Regions from separate parts of the Homo sapiens genome. Here regions 2, 3, 4 and 5 are each linked to region 1. Evidence: promoter capture Hi-C in 16 types of primary human blood cells and fetal thymus (Javierre and others, 2016). All regions are on one chromosome and are shown on one strand. The core of a region is centred on a gene start or on the middle of the fragment in contact, and the rest is flanking DNA. Distances in the headings are between cores, read along the strand shown.

Evidence for each region. Contacts are between HindIII fragments. The CHiCAGO score rates a contact against its expected background, and 5 or more counts as called.
Region 2: a contact is called between a fragment that was not itself captured here and the fragment with the promoter of LCORL in region 1, in 5 of 17 cell types (monocytes, total CD8 T cells, naive CD8 T cells and 2 more). The highest score is 7.9, in monocytes.
Region 3: a contact is called between a fragment that was not itself captured here and the fragment with the promoter of LCORL in region 1, in 4 of 17 cell types (monocytes, erythroblasts, megakaryocytes and 1 more). The highest score is 7.7, in monocytes.
Region 4: a fragment that was not itself captured here is called in contact with the fragment with the promoter of LCORL in region 1 in 1 of 17 cell types (monocytes); the score reaches 6.0 in monocytes.
Region 5: a contact is called between a fragment that was not itself captured here and the fragment with the promoter of LCORL in region 1, in 1 of 17 cell types (monocytes). The highest score is 5.7, in monocytes.

What each region holds. Positions count from the first base shown.
Region 1 is chr4:18,019,163-18,024,016 of GRCh38, forward strand. LCORL (ligand dependent nuclear receptor corepressor like) reads right to left here and starts at 2,593. Exons shown (of 8, transcript NM_001394446.1): 1 at 2,436-2,593. The coding sequence starts at 2,589. RefSeq lists silencers at 1,805-2,134, 2,455-2,914 and an enhancer at 2,965-3,224. The HindIII fragment of the contact is 12,000 bases long and covers 1-4,854 here.
Region 2 is chr4:17,783,966-17,788,819 of GRCh38, forward strand. No RefSeq gene overlaps it. Among named protein-coding and RNA genes, the nearest start is that of FAM184B, 4.8 kb to the left of the region's middle. The HindIII fragment of the contact is 2,781 bases long and covers 607-3,387 here.
Region 3 is chr4:17,837,795-17,842,648 of GRCh38, forward strand. NCAPG (non-SMC condensin I complex subunit G) reads left to right here. Exons shown (of 21, transcript NM_022346.5): 16 at 1-7; 17 at 1,882-2,043; 18 at 2,277-2,415; 19 at 2,813-2,899; 20 at 4,516-4,585. It overlaps LCORL (ligand dependent nuclear receptor corepressor like), which reads right to left. Exons shown (of 8, transcript NM_001394446.1): 8 at 3,393-4,854. Among named protein-coding and RNA genes, the nearest start is that of NCAPG, 29 kb to the left of the region's middle. The HindIII fragment of the contact is 4,850 bases long and covers 383-4,854 here.
Region 4 is chr4:17,865,235-17,870,088 of GRCh38, forward strand. All of the region lies in intron 7 of LCORL (ligand dependent nuclear receptor corepressor like), which reads right to left. Among named protein-coding and RNA genes, the nearest start is that of NCAPG, 57 kb to the left of the region's middle. The HindIII fragment of the contact is 6,517 bases long and covers 1-4,854 here.
Region 5 is chr4:17,882,179-17,887,032 of GRCh38, forward strand. LCORL (ligand dependent nuclear receptor corepressor like) reads right to left here. Exons shown (of 8, transcript NM_001394446.1): 6 at 3,890-3,983. Among named protein-coding and RNA genes, the nearest start is that of NCAPG, 74 kb to the left of the region's middle. The HindIII fragment of the contact is 696 bases long and covers 2,502-3,197 here.

The sequences.
Region 1 (4,854 bases), core at 1,343-3,842:
ACCTAGTCTCTACTAAAAATACTAAAATTATCTGGGCGTGGTGGCGGACGCCTGTAATCCCAACTATTCGGGAGGCTCAGGCAGGAGAATCGCTTGAATCCAGGAGGCGGAGGTTGCAGTGAGCTGAGATAGCACCGCTACACTCCAGCCTGGGCGACAGTAAGACTCCATCTCAATAAATAAATAAATAACAAAGAATATGAGACAGGTTTTAATAGGGCTTAATTAGGATGGAGACTGTGGGAAACAATTCTCAAATATAGTTAGAAGCCAGGGACAAAATTTCTTTTCACATACGATACAATGTAATCACATATTGCAATAAAAGTGTAATACAGTAGTAACTTTCAATGTCTTCCAATTTTACTTGAATATACAAGTAGGTAAGGCAAAAAGATATTCTAGTCCCCTTTTCCATCAAATCCAATGAATTGTGTTTCATTTAAAGTTTGACTATTTTTCAAGTCTATCTATTTTTATGATGCAAAGCTATACTTAATGTATCTAAATAAGCAAGAAGACCAGAAAAAAAAACCAACCAAAATATTCCAAAACATAAAAAGACATCCTCAAATCACTTTGTGCCTTGACAAAACTTAACAGTAATATCATAAGCCAGTGTTGCAATGCTGTCATCCTACCTAATTCTACCTAAATGAGCTCAGTAATTTCTAAATTGGTTTCCAGAAGAGATCTTTACATAAGCAATTATCAAAAACAGCCCATTTTGTATTCAAGAAGCACAAACAACAATATTTAGTTTTTTAAACAATTTATATAAAGAATACCTAGAGGTTTTTTTTTACACTTCATAAACTAAAATCACTTACGAATACTTGACTAAAGCTATTTCTCATCATCTTTCCTTAGAGAAGACCAAAATACATTTTTCGTAAGGGCAAAACAAAAGCAGTAAATTACTTAAACATCACTTAAATGCCCCCTAAAGTAACCTTCCTTTCTCATACATTTTCCTATATTCATCGCGTTCTGCGGTACACATTTCTGAACTGAAATTGTATTAAGTTTAACCTAATACGATCTCTTCTCTACTAGTCAAAAAAAGATCTTAAGACGTTAACCAAATACATGGGAGGCGGGGTCGGGGGTGCGAGGTGGTGCCAGAGCAGATGGAAACAAGGTAAGAGAGTTGTTTTCTTAAGACACTAGGGTTACTCCCCAACTCCAAATGCCAAGATTCACTCGCCAGTAGAGCAAGCTGCTGCCACTATCCACTGCTTACACAATACAACCTTCCTTTCTACCTCTTCCCCTACACTCCCACCCATAACCCCCTTCCAAAACAAACACCCACAACGCGCCCCATTCCATAATCCGTGTTCGCCCCTCTAAGCCCACTAAACCAACCTGCTGGATAACAGCTCTATGCATTCGTCTTAGGCAAAAAAAGAAAAAAAAAAAAGCGACTGCAGCAAGGTCGGGAGTCCCACCATTCCTGTCACCCTAAACAATCCACAGGGTGAGAGCCCCAAGCCCAGAAGTTTGAGGCAAAACGATTCAGATCCAACCAAAAAGAGGGAATTGCAGTTGAATGGGGATGGGAGGTGGGGAGGGCGATGCGTATGCGTGTATATGTGTGTGTGTGTGTAAGGAAGAGTCCATCACATGACAGTGAAAGAGGACCAGAGTCGTCGGGGCGTCCGCAAGCAGACGGGGGGGAGGGTGTCGTTGCCGTGGCAACACCCCCCATCCGTCCAGACTTCCAAAGAGGGAGGAAGAACTTCAAATCCCAACCGTCAGCGCTCAAGCGGCTCCTTCTTAAAGGGGTACACACAGCGCCGCCGCCGAGCGCGAGAGGGCAGAGTTGGGCGCCCCCCGCCCCTCGGACGACGCCCCCGCCGCCCCTCGCCCCCAGCCGGCCCATCAGCGGCCCCCGCCCTGCGAGTGCCCGTGGGTCTCCAGGTCCAGGTCCCCGGGAACTGGCCGCGTCTGCTCACCCGGCCCCCGGCGGCGACAAGGGGGTGTGTGTGCGCTCGGCGGGGGCGCGGACCAGCCCGCCTTCCTCCGGCCGCCCTGCCCGCCGGCTCTCCTCCGCCAGGGCGCCGACCCACCGGGCCGCTTCCTCCGTCCTGTCAGGGTGGACGGCGGGCGACGGCGGGCAGCGACGGGCGCCGAGGAGTTTCGGGGAGAGAGCGAGCGGGCGGCTTCCGCGGGGGCTCAGCAAGCGGGTCCAAACTAACAGTTCCCGGGGAGCCCAAGAGCTGGGAAGGCGAAGGAGCGCGGACCGCGCCGGGCCAGCAGCCCGCAAGACAAAAGGCGAGCGCCGGGGCCGCCGCGCCGCGCCGCTCCCATCTCGCTCCCCCACCGAACTAACCCGAACGGGAGATTCAACTAAACCCCTCAGCCACAAACTCCTCGGGCTGCGACAGCGGTCGCCGCGCGGAGCCCGGGGCCCCGGCCCGCGTCTCTCTTACCTACACAGTGCATGAGGCGGTGGCGCCAAGAGTCGAGTTCCCGCCGGAATCCTCTTCTCTCCGCCGCGCACCGAGGGCTCCGGCACTGAGCGGCGGCGGCGGCGGCGGCAGCAGCGGCGGCGGCAGCGGCCATTCTCTCTCTTCCCTTGTCCATCTGCGTCCCGCGTCACGCGCCCTCATTTACATACGAGCAGCGCAGGCACGAGGCAGGGGCGCGAGCCCTCGGCGCGAGCCCCGGAGCGCGCGCCCCCCGGAGGGGGGTTGATTGACACGTGTCACTACCTTCCCTCTGCCCTGCCCTCCCCCTCCCACCGCTCCCTCAGGGAGAGGCGGGGAGGGAGCCAGAGGAGAAGGAAGCAACCTGCCGCTTCCGCTGACCCCGCCTCCCCACCCACTACCCTCCTCCCCCTCCCGCTGGAGTTTACTCAGGCGAGCCATACCGCTCCCGCCGCCCGCGAAAACCCTGAGCGGGAGCGAGAGACCCGGAGCCCAGCCAGGAACCGGCGTGCTAGTGGAGCGGACTAGCAACGCCTACTTTCTGCCTTCACTACGGGACTCCGACAGTCCGGAGACTTCACTTCCCAGGCTCCATTTCGCCAGGATCCCGAAGCTGAACTTGGCGCCGTGGCGCGTTGCTTGCCGGTCATTGTAGTCCAGAAGAAAGGATTTTTTTTGTTTGTTTGTTTTTCTTCCCCCCCGCACTTGGGTATGCAGGCTGGCCTGCAACTTCTCTGCGCCGCGCCGCTGGGGGGCTGAGTCTGTCGCTCCCTGCGCCCGGAACCATGCGCTGCCCGGTGGCCGGGTCTGACCCGACTGCTTTAGCTTCCTTAGGCTCCGCGATAGAAGGGTGGTGGAAGCCGCAAGAGTTGTCGGCTCCTTGTGGGTTCAGGCTGCGCTTTGCGTTTTAAGTGCTGGAAACTTTCCGGGGTCGCTGTCTTCCTGTCACTCCGCAGGGAAAGGGCAAGCCGGTCATTCGGCTACATCTGGAATAACTGCCAAACGTCCAGAGAGAGATCCCGGAGTGACTTCGGTATTCAAGGCGAAGAGATCTCGGAAAGCCAGAATATTTGCAAGGACTAGGAAAAAGATGCGGGTTTTTTTCACTGAAAATTACTTGCAGGGGACTGGGTGTAGCCGGCTGAAAACTGCAGAAGGAAAATTTTCTTTATAAGCTCCTGGAGGGCAGCGACCCACTGAGATCTCTGTACCGTGACATCTGTCACTCGCTAGACCCTAGTACAGTGCGTGACACGGGATTAAGCACTTTACAAAGGTTAATGGAATGAATTCTACCACGTGCTAGAGAAAATAACTTCTTCAGAGAGAGCTAGAGAGGAATCTTACGTTTAAATACAGACTCCAATCACAGTTTTTACTTTTGCACCAGAGCGATTGTGCGTTTGTTTCCGTATAAGTGCAGTTTATCAAGCCGAAGCTAAGCTACCCAACGTTTGCTAAGAAGTACTGTGTATTTCTGGAAATTTATTCACAAGTCTGTGGGAAATATGTTTAATTCTTCTTGGAAATCTCATAAACTCTGAATTCAGTACCACCTTCCCTGTTTTGTGGCTTATCCTTATCCACCTTCTTTTTCTTCCTATGAGAAAGTATTTCTTTGCTCATTATGACTTCAGTAGTGAAGATGTAATTTTGCATCTTCATAAGTTAAAAATAATAAAGTTTGAACGCATAATCACCTTTTCTAGAACGGTCACAATTGGAGTGCAGGTGAAATCACTAGTGAAGGTGATTTTGGAATTGTCAGTGGATGGTTTTAGTTAACCACTTCCACTCACAATTGCCACGATGATCAGCCTTTGCAGTTTTCCTGATCACTTTTATAGTAATCTACATTAGTTAGGATGGGAAAAATTATGGTGCAGTAATAAATGATCCAAGAATCTTAGTGGCTTAAAACAACAACAAAAAACTATTTCCTGATTATCTACATGTTCATCTCTGGGTGGCAGGAGGAGGGGGCTTCATTCCATGTGGTCTCACTAAGCAACTGGATCCTTAAAGAGGCTGGAATCTCTGCAACGTCCCCCCTTGGGTGATAGGCAAAAGGAAGATGAAGAATGGCGAACTGGTTCTTCCTAAAAGTGATACAAGTCAGTTCTCACATTTCATTGACCAAAGCGAATTATTCGGGCGTATCTATCTTAAAGGGAGCAGGGAAGTGCGATCCTATTATATGTGCAAAAAGAAGATAACCAGAATTTATTGGTAAATAGTATCAAGGATTACTGTGATCTATCCTTCTGGTCACCAGTTTACAGTTCACTTTCTTCACACTACAAAATAGATTTACTCCTATCACAAAGTGAGACAATCCAAAAGTTCTGTTCAGTAAAGGCATTAATCTCAAAGTCTGGCATCTCTGGGTGATGGTTGGTAGTCTCCATATTGGAACTGGATA
Region 2 (4,854 bases), core at 747-3,246, 240 kb before region 1:
GATGTTGGATCTGAAAAGAATTGAAAGCCATTGCTCTAGATGATCTTATACACACTAAAGTTTAGAAAAACTGCAAGTCTAACCCCAAGTTTTAGTTTTTTAATAATGATTTCATTAGGTCTTGGGGCTAAAAAATGTTCCAGTAGGAAATATTATACTTTCAACTTTACAATGGAAGACAACGGGAAAATCAGATTCCTTTATCAGCTTTGTTGGCCCACAGCTGCTGTAATCAAGGCACCATGAGCCGACCTGTTTTGGAGAGCCCTCTGCAGCTCCTAGGATTTTCCAGCACTGGGATTAGTAGGTCCCTTTACACCATCAGGAATGAAATTGAGGGCAGAAGAGAATTAAGTACTATATCAAATGTGGAGGTGGAAGTACATTTATTAGGCCACTAATGTCATATTGGCACTGTGCTAAGCCCGTAGCACATGTTTTGACCTTCTCTGAGGTACTTATTGTCATTCTCATTCTACAGACTAGGAAAGTGAAGCTAAGGCAGGTTGAGTCCCCAACTGTATACAGCTAGTGAATGGATCTGGGTCTATCTGACCTCAAAGGTGATATTCTTTCCAATTGATTTGTCTTTAGATTACAAATATAAGCTTCCCAGAGCACAATGCTGGCAATATGATATTTTTCTTTTAAAAATTCTTATTTTTTAAAATAGAAACAAGGTCTCACTATGATGTCCAGGCTGGTGTTGAACTCCTAGCTTCAAGTGATCTTCCCACCTCGGCCTCCCAAAAGTGCTGGGATTACAGGTGTGAGCCACTGTGCTTGGTCAGAAAAATTTAAAATCATAATTGATTTGCCTTTTCTTTAGATTATAAACTTCTCATAGTATCCCCCCCAAACATCCTCACCCATAATAATACAAACAACAACAACAAAAAAAGAGTAGAAGCAAGCAAAAATAACCCCACATTCCAAACTCAGAGAAAATTATTGTTAATATTTTGGAGAAGATACTTCTAGACATTTCTGTGTAAACATATAGAAAATGTAACAAACATATATGTATTTCAGGAATGTTTACACACTTCTGTGTAAACTATAAACAAATACTATAATAATTTTTTTTTTGAGACGAAGTCTCGCTCCTGTTGCCCAGGATGGAGTGCAGTGGCGCAATCTTGGCTCACTGCAACTTCCACCTTCCGGGTTCAAGAGATTCTCTTGCTTCATTCAGCCTCTTGAGTAGCTGGGATTTCAGGCATGCGCCACCATGCCTGGCTAATTTTTGTATTTTTAGTAGAGATGGGGTTTCGCCATGTTGGCCAGGCTGGTCTCGAACTCCTGACCTCAGCTTCAGCCTCCCAAAGTGTTGGGATTACAGGCATGAGCCACTGCACCCGACCAATAATTTTTTTTGTTTTGTTTTGTTTTTGATGAGTCTCACTCTATCGCCCAGGCTGGAGTGCAGTGGTGCGATCTTGGCTCACTACAACCTCTGCCTACTGGGTTCAAGGGATTCTCCTGCCTCAGCTGGGATTGCAGGTGCCTGCCACTATGCGTGGCTAATTTTTCTATTTTTAGTAGAGACAGGGTTTCACCATATTGGCCAGGCTGGTCTTGAACTCCTGACAAGTGATCCGCCCACCTTGGCCTCCCAAAATGCTAGGATTACAGGGGTAAGCCACCATGTCCCGCCTATAATAATGCTTTTGAACCCTACTTACTCAGTAATATAAAGTGGATATCTTTTTGTCAATGAAGATCTAGCTTCCCATTCCTAACAACCAGTCTTCCATTACATACAATACCATTTACTCTATCTTCTACTGGACAATTTTTAAAATATTTCAAGCCAAAATCTTTAACGTATATTTGTAATGTATGCTTGCTGTATTATGAGGATATTAAATTCTGTCCTAAGGGATAGAGAAAAAAAAGAATATATGAAATTCATGTGTTAAGTATAATGGGCAAAGAAGTAGCCTGTGAAATAGGCAGTATTAAGATGTTAAGTATAGATAGTGTAGAGCAAGACATGACAGAGAATAAATGGAATATATGTAAAAAGGATGGAAGAAACAAGAGTGTTCCTAACGGACAGAATAAGGTGGGAAAGGCCAAGTTGCAATGTACAGACGATGCCACCTTCAGGCTGATAGTTCATTCCTAAAATGGCCATTCATTAATGACACCAGTTCTGGCCCTATTTCTGTTCTGCCACAGAAACACAGATTAAGAACATGGCTTTCAGTCGGGAGCAGTGGCTCATGTCTGTAATCCCAGCACTTTGGGAGGCTAATGTGGGAGGATTGCTTGAGCCCGGGAGTTCGAGGCTGCAGTGAGCTATGATCCTGCCACTGCACTCTAGCCTGGGTGATAGAGTGAGATCCTGTCTCTAAAAATAAAAACAAACAAACAAACAAACAAAAAACCCACGGCTCTCAGCAGGCCATTAGCTAGGTATCCTTGCCCCTGAGTTTCTGACAGAGCAAGTGTGCACTGGCTGTAAGCACCGCTGAGCCCCCATTTTCAGTTTTGGCTGCGGTCCTCATAACCTAATTATCAGAGGTAAAGGTTGATGTAGCAGATAAGACGCCACAACACTGCGTAACATGAAATTCAGGTAATTTTTCCTCCCACCTCTCTTGGACCCTATCCTAAATGTGTTAAACGTCACTATATCTTTCCAACTATATTTTGTTTAAAAGCGATAAACCATGTGATTTGAGCCTCTTAATTTGCGGTGTGAGGTTTCCTGTCCATGACACCTGGGACAGCCTGCCTAATCGTGTATTTTAAGGTTACTATTGCATCAAGGGAACTGCCTACATGACATTGTTGTAAGTGGGTTTTTGCACAGATGTGCAAGTGTTCCCACAGAAATATTCCCCCGCACCACTTGTTTGCTGGTAGAACTGAATACCTTCCCACAACTTGATTAGTCATTGTTTTTGCCTGGCTTTCTTGCTGCTTACAAAGAGCTCTTCCTTAATAGGGGCTTTTAGCACTTTGCCTATCATATATATTGCAAACATTTCCCGCAGTTAGCGGATTTTTTTTCTAGCTTTCTCATGCTCTATAAACATTTTGAATTTTTATGTAGGAAAATCTGTTGATCTTTTCCCTCACATTTTTTGGCTTTTTCCTCATGCTTAGAAAAGCCTTTTCTACCCCAGATTATGAGGAAAAGGGAATCCATAGTTTATCCTAGTACTTTCATGACTTCATTTAAAATATGGTTTATCTACCTGGGATTTATGCTGATATATGGAATGAGGTTAGACTCCAGACTTATGCTTTTCCAGATGGCTAAATGGTTGTCCCAACAGGTATTAAATAATTCATCTTTACCACGCTGATAATCTAAGTGTTGCCTTAGGTGATTTCTTTGGTAAAAATTTACTTCGGTAGATTTACTTAGGCTAAAGCTTTTAATTAGTATTTTTCTTTCCTAATCAGTTAAGTGGCACAGGTAACTCGATTATTGTTATTACTCCTAATATATTACTCATCTAAAACCAAGTTCACATTCTTGAGTATCTAGAAGGCTTTTTCCCCTACTATGCCTGACTCATTCCTACTCATCTTTCAGATCTCAGCCTGAATGTCAGTTCCATAGGAAGGCTGTCTCTGTAGTTGCAGATCAGTCTGCATGTCCTTAAGATATGTTCTCGTAGCTCTGCATTTCCGTATAGCACCTATACCATATTTTATTTTTAAAAGCTGATGTTTTCTGTCAAACATCTTCCCTTTTTTGAGTGAATGTAAGAACACACGTGTAAATTAGCATCATGTTTTTTTTTTTTTAACTGTAATCCTAACACACATTAACTAGTATTCAGGGTTTCATTAAACGTAGCATGGTATCAAATCTTCCATCTCATCTCCCAGGGAGTAAAATGAAAACCTCTTTTACACAATGGTGACGTTTGTACTGAGATTTCAGTATATTGACATGACACCATGGAGAATGACATTTTGGAATAAAATGTTTTATAGCAAAGTCATAGTCAGATTGTGTTAAATATTGATATGATCATTTGAGCTATGTACTAAGTGGCAACTCAAATTTTTTAATGGACTAAAGTATCGGTAATATGTCTGATCTATGGTTGAATATTGCATTGTAGTTGTTTCTCAATTTCTCTTTTTGGAATTGACTCCTGCTGTTTTTGGTGGTGGTTGTCCTCCACAGTGTCTTTGCAGACAAGTATTATCCAGAGTATTTACCTGGGGTTAGAAATTCTCAAATATTAGTAAACATAAAATTTGTTTATATTTACTAAACAAGGAGTTTGATAAAAATGAGTATTTCTGCTTCCCCATCTCAGAAATTTTGATTCATCGGTCTGGGGTCAGGCATTTAAAACAATCTCTTCAGTGATGCTGTTGTAGATGCTACCAGACACCATGTAGAGAATTGCTTCATGGCCCAACCAACCCTTGCTAGTTCCCTCTAATTGCTTTGTGATGTTCTTCTTGTCCTCTCTGCTATCCACATCCCAAAATCCTTCAATTCTCAGTTCAAATCACACCCATGAGGTAGCCCTGGACTGACTACTCCAGTCAGAGGTGCTGTCTTTGAGCTCCCGTAGCAGTGAGTTATTTCATGAAATGTTAGAAATATTGTATACTAATAACACATTATGACACAGTATTGCAACATTTAAAATAAAGCAACATAATTGAATTTATCATTTTGAGATACTGTGATTCAGAGGTCTAGTTTTAAGTTCAGAGGTCTAGTGTTAAGTTCAGTTTATTTCAACACTGACTTTAATAGCTGTTATAACCGAAAACCTATGAAATTTCATTGATTCAAGCGAAGAATATCATTACCTGTACTTACTAAGTTATGTTATAAGTTTTGCAATCTCATCCACCAATTTTCAA
Region 3 (4,854 bases), core at 1,558-4,057, 180 kb before region 1:
TTATCAGGTGAGTGACTGTGGTAACTGCATGCAGATCACTGTTTTGGTAAAATAATCTCTCTCAAAGATCCCTTGAAATACTGAGGAACTGCATTTTGGTCTTTAGACTTCTGTCTCAAGCATATACCACAAAGCACGAAAGAAACATGACCTTGGGAAATGTGGAGAAATCATATGAAAACAGAAGTAATCAATGCTAACATTTTTGCTACTGAAAAGAAATTACTAAAAATCCACCACCCACACCATGCCCACCTAGTACTGACTGTTAATCTGAAGTAATAACCTATGTTATCTAGGACTCACAGAGTCTTCAAATGTTGGCTTACCTGCTATGCTTCTGGCACAAGAAAGGAGAATTCAAAGACTAGAACTCACCTCAAGCTTTTTTGGCTTTTAATTCAAAGAAGATAAATCAATTGCACACTGACTCACAGACTGAACTTAAGCTGGGTTGTTTTAATCCTTTAATGGCATTTGGTCAAACTTGTTACCATTTTTGAAATTTAATGTATTAGTGATTTCAGATGCTAACAGATTAAGTTGAAAGTATTACTCTATTTTATTTGATATTTAGTGATAAGCTACTCTGTTCAATTCATATGTTGTATATTATTGGAAAGATAAGATTACAAAGGATATTAGGCAAAATTAGGTAAGGGTCAGTAATAGAGCTATTAAGCACTTCATGACTTGAGACAAGGGCAAGAGTCATGTGGTAGGAATGATGAGTACAGCATTAGTTTTAAAACTCATTGACCAAAATTCAGTTAGGCCTTGTTGGTATTTGGGGAGTGGTTTGGGTAGAGGAAGGATGTTTTAGTAAAGGTGATATATGTAGATGGTTATGCAAATATTGGGGAACTGTAGAAAGATGACTTTGGCTAAGGATCCTGAATAGGACTGTTAGGGCACAACACTGGGGGTAGATTATAGATTGCTTTAAAGGCCAATGTAGGGAATTTGGAGTTGGCCTTATGTGCAATGGATAATTATGCAGGGCTTATGATGAAAGGGTTAATGTCATGAAAACCACTTATTGGAAAGATTAATTTGGTGGTCAGTGGTGGTTATATGAGATGAATTGGTGAGCAGAAAGAAAAGAATATTAATAAAGAAAGCAGCTGAAAATCTGTATAATTCGCTTGTAGAAAAAGTACTAGAAAGTAATAGTAGAAAGAATAGAAATTGACCTAATAAAGAATTATGGGTACAAGAATCTAAAAGAAAGAGCTTGAGAGGCAAGGGAGATGGAGGAGTCCAGGAAAACTCTAAGTATGTGTAACAGCAGACTTCAAAGGAGCTGTTGACATAGTTTAATTGGGGAGTACTCTCATGATCAGTGTCTTGGAAGAGTAAGGGAAAAGTAGATTGGGGCATAGCCCTAAGTTCAACTACTGCTATGCAAACAAAGGCCCCAGCCAATCCCATAGGGAGTTCCGGAACTGGGATGTTCCTTTGAGTTGTCCAGAATGGAGACAAGCTGAAACACTGTACTTGTGCACGGGCCAGTCATTGGATTTGGACAAATCTTTGGGAGAAGAGGTATGATCTTGGACAAGGTCCACCAAAGTCCACCATTGTCAGCCTGGATCAGTACTGCAGCTGGGAACTTTTACCCTCCAAAACATGCAGCAACTGGGGGATGAGTGCATCTTTCCTAAAGGGAGTGGAACTGGGCCCTATATCACAACATCCACAACAAGAAGTCAAGAAGGGGAGCTTATTTTGGGGGTAGGGAGGATGTTAAATTTGGTTTTAGACATTTTATATTTGGGATTATGGCAAGAAAATTAGTTGGAAATATTTGTTAGATGTGTAAGACTATATAATAATCATAATCATCTTCAATTTACAGAGAATTTTCTCTTAATTTTTTAGGCCTTAACAGTACATGACAATTTGGCTATGAAAATTTGCAATGAGATCTTAACAAGTCCGTGCTCGCCAGAAATTCGAGTCTATACAAAAGCCTTGAGTTCTTTAGAACTCAGTAGCCATCTTGCAAAAGATCTTCTGGTTCTATTGAATGAGATTCTGGAGGTAAAGTAGTTTCTCATTACTCTAAATTAGTTTGTGTTTATATTTATACATGTAGAATTTACATGGTTGTATTAGATTATACATATGTTAGCATATTGTGACTTATTTGAAGTATTTTCTTCATAAATTTCATATAATTTAGTGTTTTTAAACAACTTGATATGTATTGGTACTATTTTCAAAGATTAGGGAATGCGGTGTTTACAAAATGTTAATAATGTTTTCTTTTATAGCAAGTAAAAGATAGGACATGTCTGAGAGCTTTGGAGAAAATCAAGATTCAGTTAGAAAAAGGAAATAAAGAATTTGGTGACCAAGCTGAAGCAGCACAGGATGCCACCTTGACTACAACTACTTTCCAAAATGAAGATGGTAATCACATACTGAACAGAATATTTATAAGGTTCTGTTTTTTTTTTTCCATCTTTACTGAGACATATTTTTTTCTACTCTAACATGTTTGGTTGGACATCAGAAATGAATGAAATTTTTTTTCTAATTAATCCTCTTGGGAAAGAGCATTACTGATAAATGTTTATTCTGCTTTTCAAGTGTTTTTTGGCATGCATTTCTCAACATATGACCATCTTTTTAAGAGTTTTGCTTCTTTTTCCAATATTCAAATTTTCGAAAGGGTGATTTATAACTTTTCACTAGCTGCTAGAAGGACTTTGTCATTTCAGTTTTATAAAAACTGGTCTTAAAAAGACAATTTAAAATATTTCATGAGGTTATCTTATTTATATTGTTGTATTATTCCCTTTAATAGAAAAGAATAAAGAAGTATATATGACTCCACTCAGGGGTGTAAAAGCAACCCAAGCATCAAAGTCTACTCAGCTAAAGACTAACAGAGGTAGTGTGTGGATTGACCATCTTTATGATAAAAGTTTTAAATTTTATCTTCCAATGAAAAATACTTGTTTTGCAAGTTTTCTTATCTTTGTTTCCTTAGGGATAAAGATTTTTTTTAAAATGTCTTTGGTATCCTTTCTTTTTAATTCTTTCTGTGGATGTCAGTTTTTGCCTTGTGTCTAAAGATTATAAAATCAGTGTTGCTCTTGGTGCTTTAGATTGAAAGAAGTATGATGCAAAAGATATTACAAAAGACAATTTGGGTTAAATTAAGATTTGGTTAAATGATGGTTTTATATTAGTTATTTGTGTTCTATCCTTCCTGTAACTAAGCATTTTTAAAAAATCCCTGTAGTATTTTTCTGGGCTTTGTTTTCCTTCTATTCCCATCTTATTTCATATTTTCCCAACTTATTTCCCAAGGGCTATCCAACAATAGGGGATCTGTTGGCAAAGTAAATGCTGACTATTAGGGGGTCACTTGGAAAAAAATCTGAAATTCAAGATCTTTTTATTGTTTTATTATTTCCTCATTACAAAAGCAATGCATGCTTATTACAGAAGAATCAGAAAGTACATCCAGACAAACTACTATAAGGAACACTAATAATCCCACCCATGAGCCAACCATGATTTTGATTTTAGAAATCTATTTTTTAAGGCCCTTTTCGATGCAGATTTAATTTTTTCTAAAATGGAGTCTGGTCATAATATTGTTTTGTAACCAGTAAATTATTTAAATACCAATTGCTGGATATTGTTCCAAATTAGTCCCATATTGTTGGATGTTTTCTTGGGGATAAATGCATTAGTAAAAGCAGGTAAGGAGTAGAAAAAAGTGTAACATGAATGAAGTAGAGTATATAATTTTCAGACTGTCACATTGAACAGTTTGGTTTTGATCAGATTTTTTTTGTGGTATATCACACCATGAGAACACCATCCTTTTTAATAGACCAAACTTCATATATTCATATTGTTTTATTCCTTATAAATGAGAAACATCACAAGCCAAACTTTGTCTTACTCCTTAACCTTGTAAATTTCTAGTAAGTAGAATCTTATAATCCCCAGTATATAAAGGTTCTAGTTTTTACATTGAAATATATTTTAGAACACATTTGAATTGGTCATGTATGTTATTTTACAAGAAGCCATTATTACCTTACTATGTTTTATCACCTTCCAAGAAAAAAAAAAGTTGTTTCTTTAGCACCTGTTTATGCACCTAACCTACCTTTCTAACCCTTAATTTTCATGAGTCTCCACAGACTTTGTGCTATAGCAATAATAGAGGTACTTCATTATAACACATTTTTCATATACTGTCCTCAAATACATTGAACTAAAATTTGCCTTCTTTTAACTTGCTTGAAATTTCCTTATTTTCCCTTACTCATTATTAGTGCTTACAAAATAAATTAAGTTTTAATCTTGCTTGGGTTCCTTTTTCTGTGGCAGTGATAACTGGTACCAAGATGGCTAGAACAAGTAGGAGATACATGTGTTGAAAGGATTGTTGTGTTGAAGACAAAGGATTTAGTTAGCCTAGAAACTAGATTAAAAACAAAAAGCAACTGATAATAAATCCTGATAATGAATTATACTATCTTCAAGGACAGAGAAAAGTGACAGTTTCAGCTAGGACGAACAGGAGGTGTCAGACTGCTGAAGCCGACTCTGAAAGGTATGTCATGCATGTCTAGAATATATGGAGGCCTATCTTCACTTTTTATTTCTACAAGTAGAAAAAAACTAATTTTCTTGCGAATGAGAGAGAATATATAACAAGATAGTGAAAACTATAAATAGCTGTCTTAGGTATATAGTCTAAAATTCCATCATCAAGAGCATTTGACTTCTTACGGCGTGTTTGCTTTTGCCTATTAGCTGGCATGGTCTTTAGTACTATCTTTAATATGTTGTTTCAATTTTTAATTACATGATGTGACTCCT
Region 4 (4,854 bases), core at 1,760-4,259, 150 kb before region 1:
CATAGATTCTCGGCCATATAAAACATCACAAAAAATTCAAAAAGACTGAAATCACAAACAGTATATTAGAATTAAATTAGAAATCAGTACCAGAAATATATCTGAAAAATCCCTAAATATTTGGAAACTAAACAACACATCTCTAGGCAGGGTCTTGCCATGTTGCCCAGGCTGGTCTTGAATTCCTGGGCTCAAGTAATCTTCCTGCCTCAGCCTCCCAAAGTGTTGGAATTACAGGCGTGAGTACTGCGCCCAGCCAACATGTCTCTAAATAATCCATGGGCTAAAGAAAAAATCACAAGAGAAATTAGAAAATATTTTGAATTTAATTAAAATGAAAACACAGCAGAGCAAAATTTGTGATATAGCTGAAGAAGTGTTTAAAGGGAAACTTATAACATTATGTTCATATTAGTAAATAATCTTCCTTCTACCACTATAACACTTACACTCTATTACCAGTGGTTCTCAAAGTGTACTTCCAGGTCCAGAAGCATAAGCATAAGTATCACTTGGGCCCCACCCCATACTCAATCAAACTCTGTAGGTGGATCCGCACAATCATTTTAACAAGACTTGCTGGTGATTCTGATGCACACTAAAGTTTGTGAATCACAATGGTCTAAGTGTGGTTAGGTGTCTTGCCCTACACCCTTCCTTCTTCACAATGCAACCAGGGAGATCTTCTAGAAAGCAAAATCTGATTATGTCATATCTTCCCTGTCCACTTCCAATTTAAATCTCCGCCCTAAGTGCAATGGGGAGCCACTGAAAGTAGACAAACTTCTTGGCATGGCTCATAAGAACTTGTATAGTCTGTTCCTTTGCTTCCTTCTCAATCCTCCCTACATCTGACATCATCTCCTTCTTTCTTGACTAGACACACTGGCCATGACTTACACCTCTAACCTGCCAAGAATCCCACACCTCAGCATTTTTTCCACATCCAAATCCTTCTTCCTACCCTACTGGTTCTCCACCACTTGGCCTAGTTAATTCCTCCTCACCCTTCACAGCTTAGCTTAATGGCCATTTGCTCAGGGAACTCTTCCTTCACTTGGTAAAACCTCCCAAAATTAAATTCCTATAGCACCACATACTGAGAATGTAACAGATTTGTGTATTTACTCAATGTCTGCCTCTCCAAATAAACTTGAACCGTGAGGGTAGGAACCATATCTGGTTTTGCCCCCACTATTTTGCATGTGTCTAACATACTGCCTAGCACGCAGAAGACAAACACTTTTGAATAAATAAAAAGAGTTTATAGGTACAGGCTTTTAAAATCTAGCTTTCTATGTTTGCATAACACAGAAAAAAAGTAGCAAATAAATGCATTTTCCAGGTTGCCTGGAACTGGGAGAAGGAAAAAGAAGCCAAGGTCTGGTTTAAATAAAACAAACACAAACAAGAAAAAAAAAAGTGGCAAGATGAAATCATTCAGACACCTACCCTTGCCTTTTTTGTTTGTAATTAAACTATAGGTGAATTCACTAGGCTTAACGTTACGATAATCACAGAATGCTCAGCTCCATGACAAGAAAACTGTTACTGCCCAGGAAAAACGAGAAGAAAAAATGGTAGTTAGGAGAGCTGAACTAAGAATTTTGAATTCTTAAGAAATAAAGAAGGAAGAAAAAAGGAGAAAGAGAACATTTAGACCTTGAGGCAGGAATTTATCATGGTGTGAGGCATTGAAACCAATCTCCTTCTAGCAGGTGGTAGCAGCTGGTTAAAGAAGAAAAGGGTGACCCTTGAACTTACCTCAGATAGAGAAAGCAGGTCTGGAGGCTGCAGGGAGAGAATAAAGATTTACAAAACAGAATACAACTGGTGTTCATGGCTCCCCCAGCACCACTCTGCTGGATAAAGACAGATATTGACCCGTAAAGATCAAACAAAACAGAACAGCTAACATGTCAAATACATTGTATTGTGTTGAGGGAGCGAGTGTTGAGGAAGAAGTGGATGGGGTGTTGGGGACGAACAAGATAGGATGACCTTAATATATTTTTTAAAAGCCAACAACTTATTTTTTATTTTTTTCAAGCCACACCATATCAAAATTGTAGTGATACGAACAGAGTCGGCAAACTTTTCTGCAAAGTGCCAGGTAGTAAATATTTTAGACTCTGTAGGCTTTATGGTGTCTTGTTGCAACTATTCAGCTTCTGCAGCACAAAAATAGCAATAGGCAATATACGAGTGAATGAACATGGCAGTGTTCCAATAAAACTTTATTTACAAAATAGGCCATGGGCCAGACTTCCCAATTTAGAGAATTAAATCTATGTCTGAAAATAGTTCTGTTCTCTACAACCACCAGTATGTGGAATCAGCCAAATTATGTTTCTTTTACTAATTATGTTGCCAAAGTAAAAACTTGAAATATCTTCTAGATAAATTCCTTGAGTTCCTTTGTGACTTGAACATCTAACACAACACCTGATACATCAAAAGAAAAAGTATCCAATGTTTGTTAAATAAACTGAATGATTTTCTGAGAAAGATATGGGGCAATTAGTAAAACAGAATATCCTGAAAACTCAGTAATAGTTGAGAAAGCAATGGAATATAAAATATTCAAGAAAAATTCTAAGAAAAAACATCAAGACAAAGATTGTTTACCTGTTTTACATTTTCACAAAATATTATGGCAAAAGTTAGAGACTCTTTAAAACCTAAACTCTTCTCTTAATTCCTAAGAAAATTACAGGGGAAAAACTCAAATATAAACAGAATGTATCTTTATTAAAAATTCCTCAGGGGGGTTGGGTGTAAAAAAATTCCTAATTTCATTAGAATACTTTAACAGAATCAAATCTTAACAGTTGTACTTAAAGTAATCATTTCCTTTTATCTTGTGTTCAGTGTTCAAAATATGTGTTAAAATGCTCATAAGCAAGATCAGAGGAGTATGTATGGTTAGTCTTGGTTTCTGGTAGTTGAAGGAGTATATTACTTAGTTAAAAATCAGCCATCAGTTACAAACCTGTGTGAAAACCAGAATTCTGAATGGGAAAAATGTAAATTCAGTTATTTTTGACGACAGATGGCAAAATAGAAGAAGCTGACAAACTTTTTTTTTTCAGTCATCTCAGAATTCGATTCAAAGTGTCAACTGAATTCAAAATTTTTATGGGAAAATTTAATGTTTTAGGATGGCTACTATTATTACAGGAGCTTCAAGACCACATTAGGTTATTTGATTCTTAAAAGTTTACTCAGAGGTGTCCAGAGTCAGCTTATTTATATCGAGATGTTTATCAATTAGGAAAAGATATACACCTGCTTTGGGAACTCAAAAGATACTGACATTAAAAAGGTCTATATTATTTCCAACAGTCGCACTCCATTTTTAGGCCATTACCATCTCAAAAATCATCTCCTGCAACTGACCTTTCACACATCACATTTCCCATCCTCCACCCCCTGGATCTATATTTGTGCTACTATTAGAAAAGATTCTCTAGAACTCTGCTTTGATCATATAGCTTCTCACTATTCACAGAACAGATATATTCTTGGCTCGATCTCTTTGTCCTGTCATCCCCACGTGGTGAACTTGACTATTACTAAATCTAAGGGCCCACCTTTCTCCAGGCTTACATTCTGGCAGCTGAGATAAAACCAGTTGTTCTATCCTATATTTCTTGAGACAGCTATTTCAAACCTTGTCCATATTCCCCAATTACCCAATCCCACATACTACTCTTGATTACCTCTTGATTCACAGAAAATGGACTCTAATATCTCAGGATTCTGCCCACAAATTACCGATTTGCCTTCCCACATATTGTTCCCACTACCTTTTTTTTTTTTTTTTTTTAGAGAAAAGTGACCCTTTTGGCTAAGACCAATCTCTCTAACCATGTCCTAGATCCTATACCCAATAATCTACACAGGGGCTTCACTCCATTTCCATTGGTTGCCATCTCATTTCTTTATCTTCAATTGTTTATTCCCTATTGGCTTTTTTCCATTAGCATGTAAATATATATCTTTTAAACCTGTCTTCAACCCCAGCTTAATCTAGCTAACCTTTGTATATTCTCTCCATTCATGGTCAATTATAGTTTTCTGTGCTAATTTTCTTTCTCTTCCTTCATTTAACTCATCTAGCCTTGAATATGACTTGTGGCTCTGTTAGTCCACCAAAGCTACTCTTTCCCAACAACTAAGATAAACTCTTGTTGCTATATTCAATGGAACCGTTTCAGGGCTCATCTTAGTTGACTTCTTATCAACAGTTTACATTGCCTTCTCCCTTCTTACAACACATTTCCATTCACCACATTCTCCAGGCTTTCCTCTTACCTCTCAACTACTGTCATCTGTCTCCTTTTGTATACATCCTTCCTTTTTCCTAAATCTTTGAGGCTCCGACTCCCTAGGCTCTTTCAATCTTACAATGAGTAATCTCATTGTAATCTCTTCCACTCTCATGGTTTCAGTTATTTGTTGATTCACAAATCCTTATTTCAGCTCAGGCCTTTTTCTTGGGAAACAGATCCGTATGTTTAGGAAGCATATCCATAACTGCTTCCTAACATCCTTTCTTGGATATCCCACTGAACACCTCAAATTTCTCACATCTAAAGAGCATTCTATCTTAGTAGATCTTACTATCCTCTACCCAGATGTTCAAGGCAAAAACCTGGATGTTCTCCCTTTTTTCTTCTAATCTTTAAGACATTGATTTTACTTTATAGATCTCAAATCTATTCTTTTCAATTACTGCTACTATTAGGGCTTAAAACATTTTTTGTTTCATTATTTGATGCTGACCTCACAATATGGGCTATGCTTCCCTCAGTAGCTTCATTGTTTTACCATTTTCCCACTCCCTCCTGA
Region 5 (4,854 bases), core at 1,600-4,099, 140 kb before region 1:
ATACACACAAACACAAGTGTAAAAACACAAGCATTTGACAAGGTGCACTTATTTTTTAAATTCAGCTAAAAGTATTCCTTTTGGACTTAGGAAAACTGGCTTAGAAAAATGATCAGAACCTGAATTTTAACAGAGAAAGGGGGCACTCAGAGAATTTTGAATACATAAAGCAAATCCCTATTCTTTATATGAAGGCATATGCTTTATAACATTTTACCACTACAGTTGCATACTCCATAAATCCAACAAGGATACTTTGACCCATATTTTAAAACTGCTAGGTAAAAATGACCAGTCTCTCTTATGAGTCTAGTAAAAGTTAAAATGCACTGCCCAGCTTCTAACTACCCAATTAGTAGAGAGTTTACATTACTGAAAGTTCAAAACAGCTTCAGTGTTAAATATTTGTAAATCTATTCAAGACCCTGAACAAACTGCAAATTTGGTTATTAGCAAAATGATAATGTATCGCCCACCAAAATGAAATCTGCAATTCATTTTGATAAACTGAAAATGTTTTGAAATGTCACAGCAGCAAATATATTAAAGTTACACTGAGGTTTTTCAATAGTAGGAGTGTGTCACAATCCTTAAAATTTAAAGTAGTCATAACATCAACTAACCAGCACATTTAAACCAAAATTATCATTCTCAAGCTTTTTCTGTGCACATTATAAACATGCTCTAAGTTGCATTCCAACTTTCTTTTCTAACCTTACACATTAGCTTATTTTTCAAATGAAAAACAAAACTAAATTATTTTAATAATTAAATTTAAATTATTTTTTGTTCTTAGTACTCCATCTTATTATATTAAAGGGTTCTATAGCTGCTGGGGTTAACTATGTGTCAGTTTTTTTAAAGTATATACCTTATAAACCCCAACTTCTTGCTAAATCAACTATTAAATGATAAATATTAAATTTCATTATACATATCCTTTAAGGTTTTCTTTTCTATTCCTGGTGGATGCACTTGAGTGCATTTTGTATTTCATAGAATGCACTGTCGTGTACTAATACTGTATATATTAATTTTTCTTAGTATGGAGATAGCTATTTAAACTTTGATTGGTTGCTTGACATACATACAACAAGTGTTAAGTCTGTTGTATAGAATGTTTATAAACTATGAATATCATATTTCCATTATAAGATGGTTCAACTGAATGGCTGGAATGGTCTTTCACCAATAAAAATGTTTCACTTGACAATTACTCGTTTTCCCACAACGCTTTATGCTATTGACTACTAAAGAAAACCTGAATCTTTTTCACCTATTTATACAAGGATTAAATACAAACTATCAGAATTAAGTAAGCAACTATATAATTCTGTCCACAGTGAAAACCCTGAATAAAACTTTTTTTCAAAAGGCATGTAAGTGGTTTTTGAACTGTAAAATTTCATGTCTCCTGTCAGAGTGAGCATTTGTAATTCCCACGTGTGTATATAGACACACAAATACACACCTGTGCACATACACACACACGCAAACACACACACACACACACACTCACAAACATTTTCCTAACAAGTAATCTACACAGGCTTGCTGCTGTTTTTGCAGCTGCCAGTCCCTGAATCTGTCATATTATATAACCCAGTGTCTGGTAATCGTAGTTTCTTCTTCGGAGGAGTCTTCAGTGTTCCAGATCTTTCTTTTACCTTGTATTCTAAAGTGCTGTGAGGTACCCCATAAATTCCTTGTGCTTTGGAAACACTCATTTTTCCGCTCATTACCATTGCAATAGCTTCTTCCATTATTTCATGATCATATTGCCGATAGCGGCCACGTTTTTTCCTGGGCTGCTTACTGTCTTTTCGATCTAATCCATCTTCAGTATTTTCAGAGGTTCCATCAACTGTTCCATTTTTAGAATTAAGACACAAAGGAGAGAGGTCCCCATGTAGAAAGTAAGAGTCAACACTTGAGTGAGTTACAGGCCCAGAACATTCTATTTTGTTCTGTTTAGGGAGTATATTTTTCAGTTTTTGGAGAGCTGATCCTTCTAGGACTGAAGAGGTTTTGGAAACTTGATACATAACATCCAACAGACCAGAACCATCAGGTTGTGATTTTGAGACAGAACTTACTCGTAGCTGAGGAATTTTTAACTGTACAGTAGGATTTGAAGTTTCATATTGGAGGCTTTCATTTTTTTCTTTAAACTGAGTGACCATTTTCTGTAGAGTTAGCTGATGGAGGTAAGTGGAAGCTGTTGGGAATTTTATTTCTGAGGTTTCAAGTAGATTGAGTTTACTTTTTTCTGTGCGCTCTGCTTGAGCTCTTGCCCACAAGGCTACTTTTTGCAGCACTGCACAAGTTTCTTTACTGTCCTTATATGAATAACTATCATGGAAATCTCGAGTTTTGTTTTTAAAAGATGCAGGCTTCCCTGCTGGTAAGGCTTCTAAGTGAAGAAGTAAAGTTTTTTGAGGTATGCCATAAAGTATGCCTGCTTTATTTATGTCCAGTGCTCCAGACTGAATGTCTTTCAAAGCTTTTGAGAGCAAACCATCTGCAAACTCAGCACTTCTTTCCACATAGTCCTCTCTGTTTCTGTGTAGTCTCCTGGATGGATGGAATGAAACGATGGTAAACTGATGCATGAGAGACTCTCACACAGCTATGGAAGGGGAGGGTCCACTCCTTTATTATACTCCTTGCTTAGGTAACATCACTGCTTATGACACTTTTAAGTCTGTGAGATGTAGTAGTTACTCCTTATCAAAGCAAACGCTACAGTCCTGGTAGGACAATGTGACAATGATACGGTGGCCTCAACGGGCAGACCTTCCAAGAACATAAAATCCTAACTCAGTATTTGTAAAAATATTCTCATGATGTTGCTATTCCTCTGATAGATGCTTGCAGAGCAACACTTATAAATTTTATTTATACAATTAGAGCTCCATTATAAAAAGTACCCAAATCCTAAAGGAGTTTTTGTTAGTACAAACGTGACGTTACCGCTAAACAAGTAATAAAAGAGTCAACCCCTTTAAAGGAAATTTGTAGCAGCAGGAATATTTCCAAACACAAACATCCCATATTTCCACAAGACTAATTTTTCTCTAGACAAGAGCTTAAAACTTGAAACAAGTAGATGTTATATTTGAATAATTTAATTTTAGATATTATAAATGTCACTATTTCAAATTATCATTGTAATTTTCAAAGTTTCTCAAACAGAAAGCTTACTATACCTTACGACTCAAATACTACTACAGCCGTAGTTGAAACAAATTACAATCTACCTCTAAGATTTAAATGTGACAAAAAAGCTTCCTATGCAGTTAGTTAATGGGAAGATGCAAAAAAGTTGTAAAAAAAAATCCAAAAATCCAACAGAACAGCATTTCACTACTAATTATTTATTTAATGATTAATGACACTTTTCAAAACATGAGAGGACTTTTTGTGGTGATTACTAGATATATTTAAGTAGTTTGCCACCACATCTAAAGTGCAATAAAAAAATCTAAACACTATAAACTAGCATTAATTAGTAAGTACAGTGCTTTTGGAATTTGTTCATTGTTTTAAAAAATTAATAAATTACATATTTCCCTTAAAATTGCGTCCTGAGTATTTAATTTAATATTCTCTTACTCGTCCTGCTTCTTAGTTTGTATTCTATAAGTTGGTAGTTCATTTTAGTAACATGAACTAAAGTTTGGTGATTGTTCTGATAACTTTTCTTTAACAGAAAGAATAAAAAAGAAAGAGAAAGGACAAATGAAAGGTATGAGAGAGAGACACTTATGAGTGACAAAAATTCTGGAGGAAAACTATATACGTCAATACTACTCAGAATAGTATTAAGAGTTCTCTGCAGAGATAATTTTATATTAATATTAAATTATATTTCCTAGATATTGCTTACCCAGCCACTGAATTTTCAGAAGAAGGATCACATATGGATGACTCTTCAGATTTTATGCTGGTTTTCTTTGTAGAGAGATCTAACACTCCATCCCCTATAATTTTTGCAAGAGAAAAAACTTTATATTTGCAACAGATAGGCAATCCTTACATTTTAATATTTCATATTTTGTTGATCTAATTCATAACACTAGTATTTGATATGTGGCCATTACCTATTCATCTTAAACGGGTTTAGGAACAGGATATGACTGGGAAGGCACTATATAGGAAAAAAAGAACAGAGGAGGAGCTGGCATTGCCAGGTGATAGGAAGAAACTAACTAAATATATGATATAAAATTTGTCTAAGATAAACTTTTAGTCACCTCTCCACCATTTTGTAGTGAATAGCCATTGATTGCTCATTCATGACTGTTTTCCATTCAAAGCTGCCCAGATAATGCTTTGGGAAGGTGGGAGTGATGTAAATTGTACAAAATGGAGAGAATAGAAAATGTGATGATGAGTAAGAGAATTGAATAATTAGCATTTACTAGGACTAGCAAAAGGTAAACTGTGGCTGTACGTATAAACATGTATTTTCTAGAACTCATAGTGTAAAATTTTACTCTTTTAAATTATTGAACTATACAATAGTTAAATCATTGCCTACATAATAAATTGTGCTTATATCTACGACTAAAGACATAATTTACGATAATGCAACTTTAGAAAAATAATGTTATAAAATAACTGCCTACGCATGTTATTAAAATGTAATTATAACATTTACATAAATAAAAACTCAATGATTCAGACTTGTTAATCTGGCATGCTTCAGGATCAAAAAGGATAAAAATAAACCATGAATTTAAAACCCAGCAAAGAATTCCGTGAATGTTTTTATTGTTAGCTAAAAAACTGAAAGTTTTAGCTCTAAGAAAAATTATTATTGAAAAATACATGTTTAAAAATATACTAATT